Linked DNA regions of Homo sapiens: regions 1 and 3 are each linked to region 2. Evidence: promoter capture Hi-C in 16 types of primary human blood cells and fetal thymus (Javierre and others, 2016). All regions are on one chromosome and are shown on one strand. Each heading gives the region's core, a stretch centred on a gene start or on the middle of the fragment in contact. The rest is flanking DNA. Distances are from core to core; before and after follow the strand shown. Region 1 has its middle 31 kb from the start of LINC02104. Region 2 holds the start of EGFLAM-AS1 (EGFLAM antisense RNA 1). Region 3 has its middle 50 kb from the start of LINC02104.

Region 1 (3,065 bases), core at 184-2,683, 1.1 Mb after region 2:
AGGCTAAGATGAGAAGTCACATGAAACAGAATCATAGCAGCTGATCCATACTCACCAACATATAATACAAATGAGAAAAAAATATCTTTTGTCATAAACCACTGAGATTTCAGGTTTACTTATTATGATAGCAAAATTGACTAATATAAATCTCCCTCCATAGTCCATCCCCAACCTACTTATCTAGACTTATATGGAACTACAACTGCACATGTACCCTACACTCCAGCCAATCTGGAAGCATTTCTATTACCCCTCCTTCATGTTTCTGCTTTTATTATTCTCCTAGCTGAAATTGCTCCTCCCCGATATTCAATAGACCCCACTTCAGAGATCTTTCCAGCTAGCTCAAAATCTATCTCATACATAAAATCTTTCTGAATGCTTGGTTTGAAATAACATTTTCTTCCTCTGAATTTCTCCAGGCATCCCATGTTTATACCAGCTCTCATTCTATTTGTTAATAATAATAAACAATAGTTTTTATTGAGAACTTATTACATATCAGATGTTGGTTTTACCTATTGTGTTACTTTGGATACATCTTGATGGGACAAAATGAAAAAAAAATGTATTAGGGTTGGATGAAAGCCTGTGGAGAATAAAACAGGAGGGAGTAGCAGAAAGTGTCAGGATGCTTCATACCACAGTGATGGTCTGACACCTGTGGCAGAAGAGAGGGAAGGAAGGAGGATTAGGTAGAAAGAGTCTCCAGCTGCAATGCAATTTCAAGGAATGTTCAGACAAGCCAATGGGGAATCTTCAAGCCAAAGCCATCTTTTGAGGGGCCCCATATCTCACAGCAGCGGTCTGCATTGGTAGCCCCACTATGTTTGATCATTGGCCATGAGCAGCCCTGTGGGAATATGATGGCGAAAAGAACAGTAGTTGGGGTTGTTAATCAATTATGCTCTCACAGCATGGCCACCACACCTACATTAGTTCATTAAATCTTCACAAAAATCCTATGAGGTCAGGACTATTATCATTCTCGTTTTAAAGTAAGGAAACTGAGACCTAGAGAGATTAAGTGACTTTGTTACCATCACTCAGGTAGTAATGGGATAGAGCCAGGGTCCATCCTCTGAACTGTCATGTGACTTTCAAATCGGCATTGGTTGAGTGTATGAATAAGTAAGCATACTATGGTGTTGCTGTGAGAAGGTGAAAATCTGAGATGACAATAATTAATGCCACTCTGTTTTTGTTGGACTCAGAAATTGACAATCTTTTCTGTAGTTCTGGAAGATTCCATGTCTCATAGGAATGGCCTGCATTGCACACAAGTTCTTTTTCTATCTGTGGGCCAAGGAATAGAACTGATTTTTTTTTCCAGATGACTACTATTTATTGTTCTGTTAAAATATTCTAAAATATTTTATGAATAAAATAGTTCATTAGGAGAGCTTCCTAACACCCTAAAGAAACAAGGCTCTCATATATTTTTTTCTATAATCCTTCAGCCATTATTCCAGTTCTATTTCCTGCTGAGTCTAATAGATGATTTGTTTCTAATCATACAGTCGGTCACATTATGCCTATTCTTTTGGTTCTGTAAAGGCATATCCCATTTTCTCCTAAGAAAGTCTTCTTTTTTGGCCAGGTGCAGTGGCTCACACCTGTAATACCAGCACTTTGGGATGCTGAGGTGGGTGGATCATGAGGTCAAGAGATCAAGACCGTCCTGGCCAACACGGTGAAACCCTGTCTCTACTAAAAATACAAAAATTAGCTGGGTGTGGTGGCATACGCCTGTAGTCCCAGCTACTTGGGAGGCTGAGGCAGGAGAATTGCTTGAACCCAGGAGGCGGAGGTTGCAGTGAACTGAGACTGAGTCACTGCACTCCAGCCTGGTGACAGAGTAAGACTCTGTCTCAAAAAAAAAAAAAGATTTTCTTTTTTTTTTCTTACTCTGTAGTGAGAAGTTGTGAATGGATTTACTTAGAGAAGTAAATAAATAGTTAATATTTTGAAAGGAGACTTAAACCAGTCTCCTGTCCCCCAAAAGCACACACACACACACACACACACACACACACACACACACGTACCAGTGGGGGTACAGTGGTACCAATGCAGACCATAACTGTGAGATATGGGGCCCATCAAAAGATGGCTTTGACTTGAAGATTCCCCATTTACTTGGCTGAACATTCCTTGGAATTGCAGTGTAGCCTGAGACTCTTCCTACATCCTCCTTCCTTTCCTCTCACATATATATGTCATGTGTGTGTGTGTGTAGGGAATCAATACTCAAGATGGGCTTCTTTCTACTACTGTGGATGGTGTTTATGTAAAATGCTGGCATGTGGTGAGATCAAAAGACTTTCCAGGGTGAATATAACCTGCAAGAATCTTCTGCAATGGAAAACTAAAAGACACGAACAAACAAGCAGCCATACCTCAAACCCTTTATCATTCCTTTCATTAATCACGCTACTCCTGCCCACAGTATGTGGAATTATACTTTGTAGCTCCAGGTGAAAACCTGCCCTGGACATTGTGGTGGCTGTGGGATCAACTCTGTATCTTAGGAGCAATTGACTGGTACAACAAACAACCATAGTTAATGGACCTGTAATTAAAAAGCATTTCCCTCCCCCACCACTGCTACCTTAAGATTAATTCATTGGAGGATGATTTTTTTTCTGCCTTTGGAAGAGAACTCTGTCAGTCATCATGACATATTTGGTCATTCTTAGGTTTAAGAGACTCCAAATTGCTTGCTATAAAACACAGTCTTGATTTGCATTTCTCTGATGGCCAGTGATGATGAGCATTTTTTCATGTGTTTTTTGGCTGCATAAATGTCTTCTTTTGAGAAGTGTCTGTTCATATCCTTCACCCACTTTTTGATGGGGTTGTTTGTTTTTTCTTGTAAATTTGTTTGAGTTCATTGTAGATTCTGGATATTAGCCCTTTGTCAGATGAGTAGGTTGCAAAAATTTTCTCCCATTCTGTAGGTTGCCTGTTCACTCTGATGGTAGTTTCTTTTGCTGTGCAGAAGCTCTTTAGTTTAGTTAGATCCCATTTGTCAATTTTGGCTTTTGTTGCCATTGCTTTTT
Region 2 (3,271 bases), core at 10-2,509:
AGATAGGGAAGGTAGACACAGAAACGTTAACAATGTGATGGGACAAAAGTAACCTTTTTTTGTACTGTTCTACTAAATTATGCCACATTTTAATACTGTATATACAGAGAGTATGTAAATATATATACATGCACACACATGTGTATATAAACATGGAAACACATGCACACAAATACACATATGTGCGCTCACACAGGCAAATAATAACAGAAAATTTCAAAGATTTTGGAAAATCATGGAGGGTTCCAAAAGTGATTTTGGAAAATCATTTTTGCAGAATTCTGAAATTAAAATAAAAAGAAAATAAAACTGAGGCTAAGATCACAAAACTAGTCAAATTCTTCCCTAATTCAGATTTGGACCTAAGATACCATATTGGGGAAAACTTTTGTGATCTCAAATCTCATGTCACCTAAAAGAGGGCATGTGAGTCAGGGTAAGCCAATGCTGTTACATACCAGCTCATATTTCAGTAGCCTTACATAATCAAGGCTGGTTCTTGCTCATATTACAAAATCACTGCAGGTCAAAGATGGTGGTGAGAGAGGGGGTTCTGCTCCACACAGTTATACAGGGACACAGTTTCCTTCCATCTAATGGCTCTTCTAGGGCCTTAGAGTCCTCCACTGATACTTGCATCCTGCCAGCACGTGAGAGGAGAGAAAGAGCATGGAGGATGGAGGGAAGTTTTAGGGGCCAGACTTAGGGTGCTCTATGATTCTTCCACCCATGTTCTACTGGCCAGAATTCAGTCACACCACCAACCTAACTGCAGGGCTGCTGGGAATTGTAGTTTAGGTCTGTACCCAGGAGGGAAAGAACACAGCTATGGGTGCACATCTGGCCAGTTTCTGCCACAGAGGGATTTCTAACACCATGCTTGTTTTTTCAGCTTTCACCTTGACCATTCCTCAGTTCAGAGAGTCTCTGAGATCTTACGCTGCAACTCCCTGGCCACTGGAGCCCCAGCATTACCTTTCCTTCATGGAATTTGAGATCACATTTCGGCCAGACTCAGGAGATGGTGTCCTCCTGTACAGCTATGACACAGGCAGCAAAGACTTCCTGTCCATCAACTTGGCAGGGGGCCACGTGGAGTTCCGCTTTGACTGTGGCTCTGGGACCGGTGTCCTCAGGTGAGGGCTGAAAACTTCTGGGACTCTTTCCCTTAAAAAGGCAAATAGTAACTGCTTCAGAAAAAAACCAAATCGCCATTCAACAGCTCACACTCATCCTGTCTTCTCTACATGCTTATCTTCTGAAACTTGTCCTGACTTGTCCTGCTTCAGGCAGATGACAGGCTTCCTATAGAGAGTGCTCTCCTGCCCACAAGGCTTCCTTTTCTCAAATAACTACCCAACAGGTAGCAATTGTATGCTTCAAACTATGGAAAATGGACTTGCTTCAGGTGGAGGTAAACTGCCTCCATTTCCACCTAAAGTTATGTCATGTCATCCGCAGAAACTTGATGAACTGTAACTAGTCAGCATCTCATACAGAGCATCACATGATGGGCACCCAGCAAATACATGTCAACTAGTAAAAAAGTATTAACAAATATTTTTGAACAAAAATATCCTTGATGACCTCACTCTAAATATTCACTTTCCTCTTGAACTATTTCTTTAATGGAAATTGACAGTGAATCATCAGCAATGCAGAGACCCGTTCCCTAAGCAATATGCTCAAGAAAGATGTGTGATGAGTGGTTTCAATAGCATAGCAGGAAATGGGTGCTTCTGCAGTACTTGCTGGTATTTGCAGAATTGGTGTAAGTAGTCAAAACTTTCCTACTGTTATCTAGTTTGTACTATTAAATTACTTAGCAGGTCGATTGTTCCTTGGAGCCTGTAGTTGGTAGATGCAGACGCTTTTATTTGTTTATGTCTCCCATCTTTTTATTGTGTTGATGGTAGTTTTAACCTTCAAGCCAGAGGGGCCACTAATCGCATGCAGACATGCTTCTTGTTCCTACATTTGTCTAATTCGTCTTTTTTGAAACTCACTAGGATGTTTTGCTCCATGGTGCCCTGTAACAGGGTATCAGTTAGTCTGTTGTTTCAAAGAATATTGCAAACTGTTTTCAATCTTTATCCATATTGCTAGACTGTCATGTTTAAAAAGAGTATGTAGGTGAGATGCTACAACCATGCATTGCCCTTAACTACTGATCATTTTTCCTGGCTGATAGAAAATGCTCACTGCATTAGGTTTTAACAGTTCTTAAAAAGGATGGTTTGTTTTTGTCCTTGTGGCTGAATTCCTGCACATCAGTGACACCTTCCCCTCTAGGGGAACGGACAAATATTGTTGTACCTCTGGTTATGCAAAAACATCCTATATTTCAAGACAACTTTGGTGGGGATTTAATTGATTCAATTTACATATGATTATGCAAAATAGCCTAAGCAATTCACTTAGAACTGTATGTCAAGTTGACAAAGGAAGACACCTTGAATATCACCTTGCACTTTTAAATGGTTTTCTTCCTGGATAGGGAATGACCAGAAAGATCCAGGAGAGGTTCTGGGCTCATCAGCCCTCCTCCTGGACAGACTACCCCCTCCACACTGCCTCTCTGCAGTGGCAGCTCCAGCTGTGGGGTCACAAGCACATGGAACCCTTAGAAGTCCAGCATTTCTCTCTTTCATAACTCTGTGCTTATTTTTGACACGAGGTGCTTTTAATTTTTTTTTGTAAATTTACTAAGTTATTGTTTCACTGCCTGTCAGCAAAGGCAACTGGAAAAAGAATTTTTAAGAATTAGGTGATGAAAATGAGGCAAGAGTTTCTGAGGGACAAACCACCATCTGCCCCCTTATCCTATCCCCTCCTGAGCGTAAGCTAACAACAGTGATTACTCTTGGTGTTTCAGATGCCCCATTGGAAGCTGTTTATTTTGAAAACCATTTCAAAGACTTCTTGCTCAATTAAGACAATGCAGTGAAAACTCAAACTACAGGAAGTTGTGGAATTGGCCAGATCATTTTAACTTTAGGAATAGGATAAGATGGGCAAATTCATTATGAACTTGATTAAAAAATCACGACAATTGGAATGAGTTCTTGATGGCTGTGATCGATAAAAGGATGTTGAGGAAGGTGGCATATTGACAGCAAATGACCTCTGCAGTACAAAAACATGAAATGGCTCTGTTATGGAGATAGACCACTTAAAAAGGGCTGCTTATTTCTTTATTGCATATTGATTTAGCCAAGGTGATTAAATTCTAATTGCTAAGAACAGATCACAAAATCATTTGCCAAAGCAA
Region 3 (2,980 bases), core at 268-2,767, 1.1 Mb after region 2:
ACCCATTGATATAAATGAGGGATTTTACTTTGGGAATTAGTCAATTATAGTGGATACAGTCATAAGTTTTTGAGTCAAACTGCTTGGGCTTAAATCCTAGTGCTACTTTTTATTAGCTGTGGGACCTTGGGTACTTACCTTCCCTGGGACTGTTTTCTCACCTGTAAAATGGAGTAATATTAGCATTTCATAGGATTACTGTGAAGTTAAATAAAAATAATCTATGTCAAGTGACTGGCGCAAGGAATGTTCTCAACAAATAATGTATTATTTTGCCTATTAACTCAAGAAAGAAAGGTGACCATTGTCAGGAATTGGCAAAACGTATGCAGGGAGCATAAGTAGGCCATTTTCTGGACATGGCGTGGCGTCTCCTCTATTTTCCTCACTTGCTTGTGCACAGCAGCTGTCCACAAAGCTGACTGAGAAAAAGGAACCACCGTCACTGCCAATCACCCAGGAAGACACTCATGCCTTTCTGTCTCCAGACATCTCCAAAAGTTTCAATCAGGTAATCAGCATATATTATTGCTGATTTGGGGACATAGTGAACAGCCTTCTCCCAAATTCTCTACCATACTTTGCTGCCTGAGCTTTAAAAGCTCTGGTCTTTCTAAGTCTCTGTTGAGTAGGTCTAGCTGCTTCTGATTCTGTTCCAAAAATCTTCTTTGGGATGAGTGAATGAAACCCAGTTCTGGCAGGTTCTAGCACTCCTCCTGTAGTCTAAGGGTCTCAGACAAACCACCAGTCCTGCCTCTTCTTTCCAAGAAAAGGCACAACAATAAGCAATCTCATAGTGGGAATTCTGGAAGCATCAGTGTCCCATCCTAGCCCAGCCAGCCAAAAATGCTCATTTAAACTGACTATATTCTTGTGGCTACCTAACTAGTGTCTTTACCAGTGAATACGATTCCATGCTTTGGGCAAGTCCAGGTTGCAGACAACTGCAGAAAGAAGCATGGCCAACCTGTGCTTGTAAAACCTGGTTAACCAGGAGAACTGCACCAAGGGATATCACTCCTACTTATAGGTCAGTATGTCTCTCACAAACTGCTTTATTTACAAAACCAAATACTGTTTACTTGGTTAGATAATCTAAGACATACTTTCATTTAATCTGAGTCACTATATCTTTTTGCTCCAAAATGAAGCATGTATTGAAGTTCTCTGAGTTTCTGTTCAGTGTCGAATGAAGGCAATTTTAAAAACTGATTAAAAAGAATTCCTCTTGGATTCTTTTTAATTCTTCCACCTTCCTCCGAGGGTAGTACTAAAGACGAACCAACATCATACTGGATTGAGCAAGTCACCAGACTGTATTTTAACAAAGCTAATGTGAACGTTGACTTTTGACCCTTGAAAAGTGGTCACAGTGAGCAGTTTCCTCTTACCTATTAGCATCCACAAAAGAGTTCCAGGCATTTACACTTAGAGAAAATCACCTGGCTATTTCAGTGGAATAAGGTGGACAGCCAAGGTCAATGAAGCATTGCAAGTTTCCCAGCACTTCCTGGAGGCAGAATAGGGACTGACTTTTGTCTCTCTCTCCCTCTTACTGTCTCTCTCTCTCTCTTTTAATGGCATTTAACAAATAGCAAAATAGCATCTGAGAAAAACTTTAAATAAAAACCCCAGATGATAAACTCTTGGAGGAAGAACCTATTTTTTTTAAGCATAGTGTCTTCTCCCCACCCCGCCACCCCTTCCTGATATCTATTCTCACTTTCTGAAATAAACATTTTACTTTGCTAATGCTGTGAGGTGTGGGCTGGGAAGTTACTCGTTCTCTCCTTCACTCATAGAACAATTTCTTAAGGCCTAAGTGAGAATTTTACCTACCTCTTTCAAATGAGGGGATCCTTACTAAATTTAACATGCAATAAAAATTCAGATCTGGAAATCTCAGAGTCACCTCATAAGAGTTTTGCTTTGCTTTTCTTAGGCGGAGGAACTATATCAAGTCCTCCATCTAGCGGTATCACTTGGAATTGTTTGTAAAAGTGTTCTAATGTGAATTTTGGGAGCAGAAGATATTTATTGAATTTCAAATTTTAACTGACTAGCATGATAAAAGTGGATAAGAGAGAATTAAAAGATAAAGTGCCTAGTCTCAAAGAGCTTATAATGTAATGAGAAAGAAGTAAAACTTTATAAAATCAAAAATCTAATAAATAGTTTTCAAACCTAAGTATAGGTGCTTGACTCCTTTCTTCTCCTAAGGTCATCACTGGGCAGATGTGTCAGTTTGCATATGCTTGGGGCAGAAAAGAGGAAAGGAGTTGTTTGCCAATCATAGAGTCAGAAAAGAGAGGAGATCCTATCTGCAAACCAAAGCTCCAAGTGCTCCTGAGACAGTCTAGGAGCAGCGAAATGATTTTCCTTATAAGGCTCTGGGATAGGGGAGCTGAAACATCCTAGACCTGACAAGAGACCAGTACATCTGGGGGAGCCTGGTGGAAAATCCAAGGATACTCCAGATGCTTGAGAAGGTCAACCAGCTGCCCAGGCCAGCACCTCAGTGACCCTAGGAGGGTCTTCCATAGTCTAAAGAGTTGTGACATGCTGAGGTGAACCTTTCTTTTATCTCAAGATCTGGGAGGAGCCCGAGAATCTTGTGACTCCTCTCCCCATCCATTAATTCCAGGATTGCAGCTGGTTGGCTTGTTGTCATCAACAAAATGAAACATATCTTCTTTGTCTGACAATTTACAATTGCCTGGGAGATAGGCCTGCCAATTCTAAGGTATCTCCCTCCTAATAATAATAGTACCAGACAGCCTGTGGGACCACACCAGGATGAGGAAAAATATATTAATGTTCAAGAAACTATGCTGGAAGCCTATTAGGGCATACTTCCCACATAAAATGAGTATTTCTGGATAGCACTTGATAGGTGCTTGGTATCTCCTGAATTTTGTCCTGGCAAATCCTGTTTGCTGTTATCCCTGCTTCAAACACTCAGTGTTCCTCTTTCTTCTCT

Evidence for each region. Contacts are between HindIII fragments. The CHiCAGO score rates a contact against its expected background, and 5 or more counts as called.
Region 1: a fragment that was not itself captured here is called in contact with the fragment with the promoter of EGFLAM-AS1 in region 2 in 1 of 17 cell types (non-activated CD4 T cells); the score reaches 9.3 in non-activated CD4 T cells.
Region 3: a fragment that was not itself captured here is called in contact with the fragment with the promoter of EGFLAM-AS1 in region 2 in 1 of 17 cell types (naive CD4 T cells); the score reaches 6.1 in naive CD4 T cells.

Annotation. Positions count from the first base shown.
Region 1 is chr5:39,549,874-39,552,938 of GRCh38, forward strand. No RefSeq gene overlaps it. Among named protein-coding and RNA genes, the nearest start is that of LINC02104, 31 kb to the left of the region's middle. The HindIII fragment of the contact is 6,628 bases long and covers 1-3,065 here.
Region 2 is chr5:38,426,117-38,429,387 of GRCh38, forward strand. It overlaps EGFLAM-AS1 (EGFLAM antisense RNA 1), which reads right to left and starts at 1,260. Exons shown (of 2, transcript NR_046737.1): 1 at 976-1,260. EGFLAM (EGF like, fibronectin type III and laminin G domains) reads left to right here. Exons shown (of 22, transcript NM_152403.4): 14 at 893-1,136. RefSeq lists an enhancer at 482-1,681. The HindIII fragment of the contact is 14,108 bases long and covers 1-3,271 here.
Region 3 is chr5:39,568,648-39,571,627 of GRCh38, forward strand. It overlaps the pseudogene CFAP53P1. Among named protein-coding and RNA genes, the nearest start is that of LINC02104, 50 kb to the left of the region's middle. The HindIII fragment of the contact is 6,095 bases long and covers 1-2,980 here.